Regions from separate parts of the Homo sapiens genome. Here regions 2 and 3 are each linked to region 1. The links are contacts of gene promoters, found by promoter capture Hi-C in human tissues and cell types (Jung and others, 2019). All regions are on one chromosome and are shown on one strand. The core of a region is centred on a gene start or on the middle of the fragment in contact, and the rest is flanking DNA. Distances in the headings are between cores, read along the strand shown.

Evidence for each region. Contacts are between HindIII fragments. The study calls those that stand out against the background at their distance.
Region 2: the fragment with the promoter of TMPRSS6 here is called in contact with the fragment with the promoter of NCF4 in region 1 in 2 of the 25 tissues and cell types used here (lymphoblastoid cells and thymus).
Region 3: a fragment that was not itself captured here is called in contact with the fragment with the promoter of NCF4 in region 1 in 4 of the 25 tissues and cell types used here (adrenal gland, liver, mesenchymal stem cells and 1 more).

Annotation. Positions count from the first base shown.
Region 1 is chr22:36,858,006-36,862,255 of GRCh38, reverse strand. NCF4 (neutrophil cytosolic factor 4) reads right to left here and starts at 1,250. Exons shown (of 10, transcript NM_000631.5): 1 at 1,053-1,250. The coding sequence starts at 1,084. All of the region lies in intron 1 of NCF4-AS1 (NCF4 antisense RNA 1), which reads left to right. The HindIII fragment of the contact is 13,239 bases long and covers 1-4,250 here.
Region 2 is chr22:37,107,277-37,111,526 of GRCh38, reverse strand. TMPRSS6 (transmembrane serine protease 6) reads left to right here and starts at 1,814. Exons shown (of 18, transcript NM_001374504.1): 1 at 1,814-2,024. RefSeq lists an enhancer at 3,083-3,584. The HindIII fragment of the contact is 35,568 bases long and covers 1-4,250 here.
Region 3 is chr22:36,721,783-36,726,032 of GRCh38, reverse strand. CACNG2-DT (CACNG2 divergent transcript) reads right to left here. Exons shown (of 4, transcript NR_134623.1): 2 at 2,686-2,805. Among named protein-coding and RNA genes, the nearest start is that of CACNG2-DT, 20 kb to the right of the region's middle. RefSeq lists an enhancer at 1-97. The HindIII fragment of the contact is 3,983 bases long and covers 1-3,819 here.

The DNA of each region.
Region 1 (4,250 bases), core at 1-2,500:
TGTTCCCCGCGTAGGCACACACCAGCCTGGCCTGTCTCTGGTGACCCCCTGAGTGGCCTCCACGTAGGTAACAGAGGTCACCTGCTGTTCCAATCCAGGGGGTGCAGGGGCCAGGCTTTGCGTCCTCAGGGCCCCCGCAGCTTAGAGCTCAGACCTGGCTACTGAGGAAAAATTCTGAAAATGCTTCCCAAGCGACGAGGCTAGATGCTGGTGAGGCCGTGCTCCAAGCCCCAACCTTGCCAGTCACTCTCTGTGACCCTGAGTAAGTCTCTTATCCTCCCTGGGCCTCAGATTTCCAATCTGTACAATGGCAAGGTTGGACTAGAAGAATCTAAGACCTTTTCCGTCTCAAAGATCCACCCATTCATTCATTCATTTATTCATTCATTCAGCAACATTTATTGAGCCCTTGGTCCTGGTGCTCAATAGGGATGAGCTACCTCCTAGTGATACAGCAGCGATCAAAACGGACACAGCCTCGTGGAGCTTGCTTCTCATGGGGGAGCCAACGTTCAAGAAAAAATAATAAATGAGCATATAATATTATTCCTGTAATATAAGAACCAGGCAGAAAAGGGAAATAGGGCAAAGGGTCAGACAGCAATGAGGTAGGGGCTGTCAGGAAGGCTTCTTGGAGGAGGTGACATTTGAGGCAAGCCCTGATTAGCGGAAGAACAAGCCAGATTCTGTGAATTCTGTTTGCGCAGAAGATGGAAAGTCATTGCTGATCACCATGTGAAGCAAAGGGCCCCAGCCTGGGACCCAGGACACCTGCATTCCTCTCCAGACACTGCCGGTCACTCGTTGTGTGACCGTGGGCAAGTCACTCCCACTCTTGGAGCCTCAGTGTTCTCATTTGTGTCTGAGGGTGGTGAGCCACAGCTCAAAGTTTCGTTAAAGCAGTTCTGAGAGGTTGCATTTCTGAGTATTTGGGTTCTGACTCAACCCCAGCCTCTCATGTTGATCAGGGACTGCAGAAGGACTGGCCTTTGTCCCTAAGGCCTATGAGGAGCAGTGAGAAGGCCCGGGGGCGGCCACACCCCGGCACTCACCTCTCGGCCCGCAGCTGCTGGGCCACAGCCATGGTGGGCGATGGTCCCAGGGAGCAGGTGGAGAGTCTCGCCCAGCCAGTCCCAGGCTGAGTTCACCTCTCACTTCCTCCAGCCACCCTGCGTCTCGTCTCAGCCTGTGGTCCTGGGAGTCCCCAGGAGCTGCCTTTGGGGAGGCTCAGGCCTGCTTCTCTCCAGTCTGGCAGAGGCTCCTCCTCCAGGCTCTCTGGGCCTAGCCTGTGGCCCACACTTCCTCTTACCTCACCTCCCAGCTGCACAGAAATTGAGGAAGTGGACCCTCGGGTGCCAGGTTTGCAGGAATCCACTTCCTTGATGTCAGTCCTTGGCGCCAAGCCTCAGTTGGGTATCAGAAGCCTTGCTCCATCAGAGATGGGGTCCCAGCCATCAGGGTGTCTTGTGACCTTGAGGAGTCACTTATCCTCTGGCCCATCAAGCCCCACCTTTATTCTCTTACTGCCAAGCCTTTGCCCAAACTCTTCCCCAGGCCTAGAATGCTGGCCTCCATTTTCCTGTGATCTCTTAGGCCCAGAGTAAATGCCACCTCCTCCAGGAAGCCCTCCTGGTTCCTCTGGCCTCTGTCTTCCTAGAGTGTGAAGTTTGGTTTGCGCGCCCTGGCACTCTGGGATATCCTTTCCTCATCCTTAGATCTCCATGCCCAGCCAATCCTCTTTCACAGGGCTGCCAATCAGAGTGAGTTTCACCCTCCCTGCTTAAACTCTCCTGCCCCATCACCCTGTGCTCAGGATAAAGTCCAGAGTCCTTGCCCTGCCTGCCTCCAATGCCCCTGAGGCCCTGCAGCCTTCCCCAGCCTCTGCTCCTGAGCTCCCTTTTTCTCACTGGCCTCCTTTCCGTTTCTAGAATGTTCTAAGACGTCCGCCCCAAGGCCTATGCTCATGGTGTTCCCTCTGCTGGAAAAAGCTCTTCACTGCCTCCTTTGCATCTCAGCTTAGAAGCTACATCTTTAGCGAGGCCTTCCCTGACCACACACCCTAAATTAAGGCCCTCCCTACTACATTCTCTCACAGGTCCCTGCACGTCTACTGCAGAGCACTCATAACTATTGTCATCTCACATTTGTTTGTTTATCTGTATGTTTAATGACTGCCTCCTTGGCTAGCAGCGTGCCTGGCACATTGCAAGTGCTCAACCAATATTCAGTGAATGAATGAAACGCTGCCAGTCAGTGACTGCAGCTCCTAACAGGTATGGGTATTTGATTCTGAAGGGACTTCTCTGAGAAGAGGTCCACAGGAGTCATTGGCACAGCCACACCCAGTAACTCCCTGCCAGCTACACACGCTCACACACTCGTATTCATACATGCAGAGCAGAAAGTTGTTTTAAACTACTTTAAACATACAAGTCCCAGCTAAAAAAAACAAGAAAGCATAATTTTTAGGTAGGATCAAAGAGAGGGGTCAGGAATCTATACCAGGGGGAGAGGAACGTGGCCAACAGCCCATGGGAAAACCAAGATTGGATATGCATTGTTGGGCTGAGATTTTAATGCCAAATCTGGGACTAGGTACAGGCCACAGGTCCTGCTGTTAGCAGAAAGTCAAATCTGAGTTCTCAGTGTAAAGTGGGTGTCAGAACTGATTATGGGAACAGAGTTTCTCAGCCATCAGCCTAGAGTCACGGCAGGAGCTGAGGTCCTCTCACAGTCCATGGGTGGAACAAGGGACGTGTGTACCAGATCAGCCTCAAGCCTGCCCTCTGCACTGGTGTAAGGCCCCGATATAAGCTACCCACGTGGTGCAGAAATCCTAAGCTGAGGCATTATATAAAAACAGCTTGGAGTCAGTGACTCTGCAGGGCCTACTCTGTCAACTCACAGACCAAAACTACAAATCGTGAGCTGTGAAAGACAGCTCAGAGCCTCCACATCATGAAGAATTCACACCCAAAGAACTAGAAATAATACAAACAATAAGTCTGATGAGTTGCTGGTGTCTCGGGGCTCCCAGGCTAGAGGATGAAATGAAACACAGAGCAGGGTTATTAGTGCAGGTGTCTGTAAGTACCAACAGGTGCAAGCACACAGCCATAACTGAGGGAAGAGGAGGACATTGGCCTACAGTTGGTCAGGAAGGACAGGAAGTGGCAAAACAATTTTAGCAAGCAAGCATGATACAGAATTTGTAGGTGATTGTGTAAACTGTGTGTGTAGTATATGCCTATAGTTGGAAACACATATTTGTGTATAAACACATACAGCTCGCATAGGCAAGTGTAAGTGCATTTGTGTTGTGTCTATAAAAGACCATATAATGTGTATAGTGGTGGCATTGTGGCTGTGAGAGAATGTGTTTAGATGTTTAGGTTGCAGTCGGTGACAAATGAGTATAAACACAAGTACATTTATAATAGGTGAACTCAGGCAAGATAACATGTCCTTTTTGAACCTTTCTTCTTCACCAATCTGTGAAACAGTCTTGCCTAATGGAGTTGTAGTAGGAATTAATAGAAAACTGTATAAAAGTGCCTAGACACATGGACATTTCTTATTCCTTTTTTAATCGTTTTCAGTGTGTATATCTGTATGTGTGTGTTTCAGGTGGGTTAAGCCCTCAAGTTTACCTTCCCAGGTATTTTCATGGCTTGCCCTCCAAACCCCGGCCCCCCCAACCCCCCAAGAAACCTCCTGTGGCCCTGACTCAGCCACTGGGAAGCCACCTCTGCACCTGGGGGACAAAGATGTCCAGGGAAGAGCCCGCGACGGGCCAGCTCTTCCCCTCCTCCCCTCTTTCTCTCCTTTTCTTCTGTCCCTGCCCGTGGTTCTGCTGAATACAGGTATTTCTCTGTCTCCTCATACACAGAACGCTGCTGCCAATTTTATGCCCGAGCTCTGATACAGTGTAATTTGAGGCCAGGCACTCTGTCAGCAATGGGCTCCTGTCCTGCCGCTGCAGCAATGCCTGTACCTTCTACTCCCACTCCAGAACCGGGCTCTTGCTGCTCCTGCTGCAGGGGGAGAATGAGGCAGAGGGATGACCTGGAAGAGGAGCCAAGCTCTTCACACGTTCCATTAAACAAGTATGGATGGAATCTTTTTTGGATAAGTGCAAAGAAATGCCTGAAGTGACCTCTCACTTATGGAGACCTGATTTTTGATAACCTCCACATCCCACAGCCTGTGAATAAACCAAAAAAAGAGAAAAGCCATTGAATGGTTAGAAT
Region 2 (4,250 bases), core at 565-3,064, 250 kb before region 1:
ACGCTTCACACTCCACACATGCTTCACACTACATACACCTTACACTACACACACACCTCACACTATGCACACACCTCACACTAAACACATGCCTCATATTCCACACATACTGTGAGCATGCACACACACACACACACAGCTGCACACACCTCTCATGCTCCATACACACCTCACACCATACGTACCTCAAAGACACACACACCTTACACTGCACATTCCCAGCACCCACACTGCACACACATGCACAGTCCATATGCCCACACAACACACTTCACACACCCCCCACCCCACACCATACAAACCTCACAGACACACCTCTCACACAAATCTTATACCCCACACACAATCCCTACGCTCCACACACACACACACACACACACACGCACATTCTACACATACATAATCTACACACACAAATTCCAGACTGTCTCTCTTACACACACACTCTGGGACCCATATGCCCACAGCACACAGCATCTCAGGCGTGCACCCCGCATTCTGGCCTCAGGATGTAGACTCGCTGAAAGTCAGCCTTGTCTGAGACAGACGCCCGCTGCCCTGCACGCACCCTAGAAAGCCCTGGCTCCCATCCGGCACTTCGGCACGCATATGGCTCAAACCCATCTCCACAGCAACGCTGTTCCATAGAACAACAACGCAGGTCACACTTGTGACTTAACCTGTCTAATATCCACATGCAACAAGGGGTGTGGTGGCCCGCGCCTGTAATCCCAGCTACTTGGGAGGCTGAAGCAGGAGGATCATGTGGGCCCAGGAGCTCCAGACCAGCCTGGCAACCTAATGAGACCCTGTCTCTGAAAAAAAAAAAAACAAGAGAGCCAGAAGAAAATTGCTTTTAATAATACATTTTATTTATCCCATGATCACCAGTGTTATTTCAACATAAAATCAATATAAAAATTGTTATCGCGTTGGTTGACATCCTGTTTGCACTTGGCCTTGGAAACCTGGTGTGCGTCTCCCCCGTGCAGCTTTTCTCAGTTCAGACTGACTCAAGAGCCACGGGTGACCAGCGGCTACCGTCATGGACAGCACAGCGCTACGGAACCAGGTAGGAATTCATGCTGCGTGCGGTCGCTCATGCCTGTAATCCTAGCGTTTTGGGAGGTCGAGGTGGGTGGAATCACTTGAGGTCAGGAGTTCGAGACCAGCCTGGCTAACATGGTGAAACCCCATCTCTTCTAAAATTATGAAAATTAGCCGGGCATGGTGGTGGGCGCTGTAATCCCAGCTACCTGGGAGGCTGAGGCAGGAGAATTGCTTGAACCCGGGAGGCGGAGGTTGCAGTGAGCCGAAATCACACCACTGCACTCTAGCCTGGGTGACGGAGTGAGACTCCATCTTAAAAAAAAAAAAAAAAAAAAAAAAGAACGAGGTAGGAATTCAAATAATTCCCAGCTAAACAGAAAATAGCATCAAACCCCACCCCTGCCTCCCCTTTCTCCTCTCCAGTCCCCAGAGTATATGGGCCCAGCCTCCTTTTCTCTCTCTCAGGCCAGCAGCTCCTTTAGTCTCGCCTGTCCAGGTAAGCACCTGGACTCACCCTTGTGAGCCCCTGCACTCACCTGCACCGGCCTCTGCACAGTCCCCAGTCCTTGGCTGTCCCTACCTCATGCTCTCGGGGACCAGGGGCTGTAACCAGGCAGGCATGTCACCAGGCAACGGGCCTCGGGGGAGAGCTCAGATCTCCCGCACCTGCCTGCCAGCCTCTGGGGTGCCCATGCGGGGGTGGGGGAAGATGGGGCGGGGCAGGCACTGCCTTCTCCTACCTCCTGCCTGTTTACCTGTACTTAGTCACAGTGCTGTCCAGGACCCAGCAGGAGGAGTTCCATGGAGCCTGAGGCCACAGGCCACAGGGGACAAGGGCCAGACACCCTGGTCATGGCTCTAGGCCATTGATCCAGCCTGGGCTGGCTGGGTGGGGGTGGGGAGGCCTTGGCCTGGACAAACAGAGGCTCCTGAGGCCTGTGTGCAGGCCCGGCACCTATCTGCCGCTCCCAAAGGTAAGCGGGGGCCTCCAGGACAGGGGACCGGGATCTATAAATGACCTAGTGACAGTGTCCACCCTAAGAGCTGGGCCTGGCTCCCTGCAGCCTGAGCCACCTACCCTGCTCCGAGGCCAGGCCTGCAGGGCCTCATCGGCCAGAGGGTGATCAGTGAGCAGAAGGTGAGGGGCCCACAGAGCTGGGGAGGGGAGGGACCACGCAGGGTGACACCAGGTGTGTGGACAGGCACAGCATCAGTGCTGGGTGGTTGGTGGCCTGGGATTCAGGTGGCAGGGACAGGAGGAAGGGAGAGGCCACCCTACCCCTGCCTCGCAGGACTGGACATGCTGCCCCCTCCACACCCGGTACCCCACCTGGGCCTTCTGGTGTAGGAGACAGGCCCGGAGCCCCACATTGCACCTATGTACTGACTTAAGCCCAGGACCCTGGGCTCACAGGCTCAGAGTTGGCATGTATGTGTATGTGTGTTCGTGTGTGTGTCTGTGTAGGAAGGGCGTGCATCTATGAATTTTTGTGTCATGAATAGATGTGCGTATATCCCTCCGCGTGTCTCCATCTGTGTACATCTGTGGGTCTGTGAGTGTGTTTATATGTGTGGAAGGGACCCCCACCCAGTCCCCCACACTCTCAGGACTCTAGGGCCTAATGGTTTCACTGAAAGATGCCCCTATGGCCCTAGCCCAGAGTCCCTGCTCTGCTCTGCTCTGCCCTGGCTGAGGGACCTCGGGTAAGTCATGTTACCTCTCTCTACCTCAGTTTCCCCAGCCATTAAATAGAGTCAGCAAAGTAGGCACCCCAGGCTGTTGGAGGCTGCAGTGGAGTTTGCAGCACTGCCCAGCACAGGGCTGGCACATGGTAGGAGTTCATACGCAGTGGTTGAATCCGGATCTGCATTGCTGGGGGAGTCGCGGCCCCGCCCCAAGGAGCTCAGCCTCCAGCAGGCAGACCCGAGACCCTCCAATGGCCAGAAGGGCAGGAGGGAGTGAGGAGCAGGTGCCAGGGTGGGGTCCATGGTGCTCAGAGCTGGGGGACTGCTTCAGGCCCCTGTGGCAATTGGAGCACAGTCCCCGCTTCCAGGAGTTCAATGTGAGGGGCAAAGAGAGAGTGCCCACAGGTAAGCTGCACATCGCGAGGGGCAGCCGCCCCTTCTAGGGCACTCTGGGAGAGCTGCGAAGAGGTGAGGTCTGAACTGAGGTGACAGGGGCTGCATAAGAGCTGGCCAGGTTGGGAGGTGGGGGCCCAGGCAGAAGGAAGAGTGTGGGGACGCCTGGCCGTGAACAAGCACTGACAGGGCTCAAGGTCCACGAGGGCTCTTGGTGCCGGCTGGCTGCTCTTAATCCATAAATGTTTGCTACCATCCCATTGTTAAAATTTCTCACCAATGGAAGTCCAGTGTCCTTGGGGTGCGACGGGGAAAAGAGAGGGTGGGAAAAAAGGAGGCAGGAGAAGTTGGCCAGGCCACATATGCACACAGCACCTTGGACTTCTGTAGGGAGGAAGGAGCTGGGACCTTGTCATTCATTCATTTAACAATTACTGAGTGTCCGCTGAGTACCAGACTCTGCTCTCATGCAGCTTACAGACAGGGAGGAGGCAGATAAATGACATATTTGCATATCAGGCAATTTAGGCCTCTGTAATTGCTATAAAGAAAAATGCAGGAGAGACGGGAGTGCCCAGGGAAGGCCTCTCTGGAGAGGTGACATCTGACCCTTTGGAGGAGGTAAAGGAGGGAGCCACGAGGCCAGCAGAAAGGAAAACATCCCAGGCCCAGCAAGGAGCAAACCTCCCATTCAGCAAAGAGGACAGGAAAACTGAGACCCTGGGTCTTTAGGGACTGTGTTCTAGGTGGATGGAAGCCGTGCGAGGCTTGTGGGCAGGGCACATGGTGACAACACGCAGTGGCCATTGTGTGAGAACTCACTGGGTAGGGGGGTGGGTGATTGGCTATTGCAGGAGTCGAGGTGACAGATGACGGTGGCCTGGATGATGGTGGGAGTCATGGGGGGCCAAGAAGGGGCTGGCTTTGGGGGGCATTTGGAAGGTAGGGCCACAGGCTTTTCCAAAGGTGCTGGACCCTGGGAATGGGGGAGCCGTTGTATTATAAGATAGTAAAGACAAGAGTGGCACCGTCATCTTCACAACTGTCCACTGCCCCTCCTCCTGCTGGGCAGGAAACCCAAGAGGATGGGAATGAGGTCTCTTAGAGTCACCATGTGCCAC
Region 3 (4,250 bases), core at 579-3,078, 140 kb after region 1:
CCTGCCTGTGAATCAAAGCTTGTCTTTTTTTTTTTTTTTCTCTGCCTCCAGCCCTTGAGTTTCCAATTTCACCATTAGCTCATTGAACAGTGGCAGCATTCCCGAGCCTCGTTCAGGAAGACTTCATCTTCCGCAGGACACAGAGGGAGCACAAGAAGGTAGAGCCCGAGGGGACCGGAGCCGAGCCAGAATCGCACCACCGCCCGTGGGGCCGCCCAGAGGCAAAGCCTGGGGCCCGCATGGCTCCCCGGGCTCCCTGTGGCTCTCCGGGCCTCCGTGTGCTCTGTAAACCATGGGTCGGCATCCTAAGCCCAGCAGATGCTGCATGACATATAAACTGTAAAGCGCTAGAGGTACGTGAGGGGTAGGTATGGACTGGGCAGAGGAAGGGGCTTGTACACAGTGAAATGCCGCACCCATGCCAAACAACTTTGCAAATGCCAGGGAGTAATGTCGTGCCCTTCGCGATGCCCAGAGAATGCCCCAGCATGGAGATGAGCCAGGGGGCCCACGAGAGTGAGAGAAAGGGGTAACACAACCGTTCCCAGTTTGAGGCCAAAGACGTTGGGTGTGTCTTTGAGGTCCCTTGGATCCCTGATTTTAGGAGTTGCAATTAAAGGAAACAATACTGATGACTGTGACTACCATGTGCTCTGCTAAGTGCCCCAAATGCTTATCTTCTTCTATCCTATCCCTGCAACACTGCTGATGGAAATGCCAGCATCCCTTCCATTTCACAGACGAGCAAACTGAGGCCTGGGAGCAGGTGGCTTTCCCAAAGTCATATGACTTGGTGCATGGTGATCCTGGGACTCAGACCCCAAGGGAGCCTCCTTAACGTCTAGCTGGTGTGGGGGCAAGCACAGAGCATTGTGTCCCATCCAGGGAAGGGCCCAGGTAATGTGGCTTGTCTCCACCTCCCTTCACCACCACACCTGGCCAAGAGGGGCAGGCCCAAGCCCAGAAGAGCTGTCCCCACTGGACTGTGCCACAGGGTAGGGGGTGCCTGCCGGACACTTGCATCTGGAGGCAAGTGACCCTCAAATCATGCTCAGGCTAAACTGGAAGCAAAGGGGAGACTGCAGATCTCAAGACAATTGGAACATTGAAGAAATTAGGCCAGGCATGGTGGCTCACACCTGTAATTTCAGCACTTTGCGAGGCCGAGGCAGGAGGATCACTTGAGGCCAGGAGTTCGAGACCAACCTGGGCAGCATTAGCAAGACCCCCATCTCTACAAAAATAAAAATAAATTAGCCAGGTGTAGTGGTGCATGCCTGCAGTCCTAGCTACTTGGGAGGCTTAGGTGGGAGGATCACTTGAACCTGGGAAGTTGAGGCTGCAATGAGCTATGATCACACCATTGCACTCCAGCCTGGGTGACAGAGTGAGACCCTGTCTCAAAAGGAAAAAAGAATGTATTTGACCATTTTAAAACTAAAGCCAGTTAGTGTAAGGCATTGTCAGAAATAGTTATACTCCCATTCTTTTGATATCTGTGTGGTTTTATCCATTGATTGAATAATTGATTGAAACAAGATCTTGCTCTGTTGCCCAGGCTGGATTGCAGTGGTGCAATCATAGCTCACTACAGCCTCATATCCCTGGGCTCAAGGGATCCTCCTGCCTCAGCCTCTCAGGTAGCTGGGACTACATGCACACACTACCTCACCCAGCTAATTTTTTTTTTTTCATTTTTGTCTTGTAGAGATGGGGGTCTCACTTTGTTGCCTAAGCTGGCCTCCAACTCCTGGCTCAAGTGATCCTCCTGCCTCAGCCTCCCAAAGTGCTGGGATTGCAGGCATGAGCCACTGTGCCTGGCCTTTTTTGTGGTTTACTATCCCCACATGCTCTCCAAACCCAAGATGTCTTGAGGCCCATCTAGAGAGTCCGAAATCTCCCTGGACTGAAAGTCAGGAAGACCTGGGCTCTTATCTAAGATCTACTAACCCCTACTTGCTGTGTGCCCTTAGGTGAGTTCCGACTGTCTCTGGGCATCAGTTTTCTCATCTGTGAAATGAAGCAATAGACTCACCTGCCTTCTAAATGCCTCCCCACTCAGGCTTTCAGGGAGCCCAGTGGGTTGCATGTCGCAGGTCTGTGGTGCTGAGTGCAAGTCTATATTTTCTTTACAAATATTTATTAAGCACCTACTCTGTCAGCTCCTATAGATGCATAGCCTCAGATTATTAATTCAACCCCATGCAATAGAAATAGAAATGGAGGCATTCTGTCATTCAGAGAAGGAAGCGGAGGTTTCAGCAGGTGAAGTCACTCGCCCTTTGTCTCACAGCGGCATTCAAACACTGGCTCCTGGTCTGAGCCCATTCCATTTCATTCTGCCACCTCCCCACATAAGGAAAGCAGGAAATGGAGGGAAAGGCTGCTTCTCCCTCCACATGGCATCCTATGAGGTGCTACAATTGTTATTCCCATTTCACAGAGCAGGACACTGAAGCACATGCAGGTGCCCAGAGTCACACAGGATCTAAAGCCCCCTGCAGTCATGTAAGCTTAACCATGGGGTTGGCCAGGTGCAGTGGCTCATACCTGTAATCTCAGCACTTTGGGAGGCCGAGGCGGGCGGATCACGAGGTCAGGAGTTTGAAACCAGGCTGACCAACATGGTGAAACCCCGTCTCTACTAAAAGTACAAAAAAATTAGCCGGGCATGGTGGCACACACCTGTAATCCCAGCTACTCAGGAGGCTGAGAGTCAGGAGAATCGCTTGAATCCTGGAGATGGAGGTTGTAGTGAGCCGAGATCACACCACTGCACTCCAGCCTGGGCAACAGAGCAAGATTCTGTCAAAAAAAAAAGAAAGAAAGAAAGCTTAACCACGGGACTGCACTGCTGCCCCCACCTCAAAGCACTCAAAATAGGAGGGGAAGGAGACAGCAGGAAGCTCACAGGTGCCAACCAGTAATTAGGTATGAGACAGCGACACTGTGGAGGCCAAAAGGATCTGAAAAGGGGCTTTGATCCCAGACCAGGACAGCTGGAGGCTGCCTGCAGGGGCAGAGGCATGGAGGATGAACAGGATTCGCTAGGCAGGGGAGGAAGAAGACATCCCACAGAAAGAAACCAGAAAATAGCAGGCACAGAGCCCCTCATCCTGTGTGGGGGACAGTGTGCCACCCGGGTGAAGGATGCAAACTTGGGAAACCTTACTGCACTTCCTGAGGGAGGGGAGAGACCAGGAATGGGGCTGTGGGGACCAGCAAGGTGGGAAGGAATGCCAGCAGCTGACAGTGCAAGGAGGGATGGGGGTGGAGAGATGCTAAGAAATTATAGCACTGTTTCCCAAAGCCAGGTTCCAGTTTTTTGGGTTCTGTGGTCACTTAAGTCTGGAAGCCTGCCTTCTACATCGCTCTCTGGGAGAGTCTTAGGCACAGGAGCCTAGGCAAGGCTTGAAGTGCCGCAGCCATAGAACCTGTTCGGCTGTTTAGTGCAGGTTCTTAAACTTGCTTTGCCACAGAACCCTCATGTGGCCATTTTAATTTTAATTTTGATAACCATATCTAAGATCCAGCGGAACTCACGTGCCACCAGATTAACTACGAGGCAAGTTAACTGTGGAAATGAGTGGATTGAGCAGAAGTGAATCTGTGGTTCCATAGCATATGCCTGCTCATAGTAGGTGCTTAATGAACCTTTACTGGAAAGACCCATGGACAGAGGTGAGCTCACCACCTTCTGGCAAGGTTTGGGGTTCTATGAGAGGCTTCTGCTACCTCCTCCCTCCACTCCTGACCTTTTTACCCATGGGTGTTTATTGACTTTGCTAGGGGCCAGGTGCTTTCTGACTTGCTTTGCTTACAAGAGCTTATCAAATTCACACTACCCTATGAGGCACTGAGAGGGTGAGAAACTGGCCCATGGTCACTCAGCAAAATAAGTGGCAGAGTTTGCATTTTGATCCAAATTTGACTTACTCCAGAACCCCCTTTCTTCATCATTAGATTTTACTGAGTCTCAAAAATCTACCTTTATGCCTTCACCTCTGGCTTAACTGCTCCTGTTAAACATACACATTTGAGGTCTGTGTTATACCAGCAGACATTTACACTTTAGTGTGAATGTATATTTTGAAAAGAGTACCTGAGGTGTGCATATACTACTAAAAATGCCAATATTAATATTACCACTAGTACTGATATTATCACTACCAATGTTTGTTATTTATTGAATACTTACTCCATGCCAGGTACTGTTATTAGCCTGTTAAAGTTATTAAATCATTTAACTA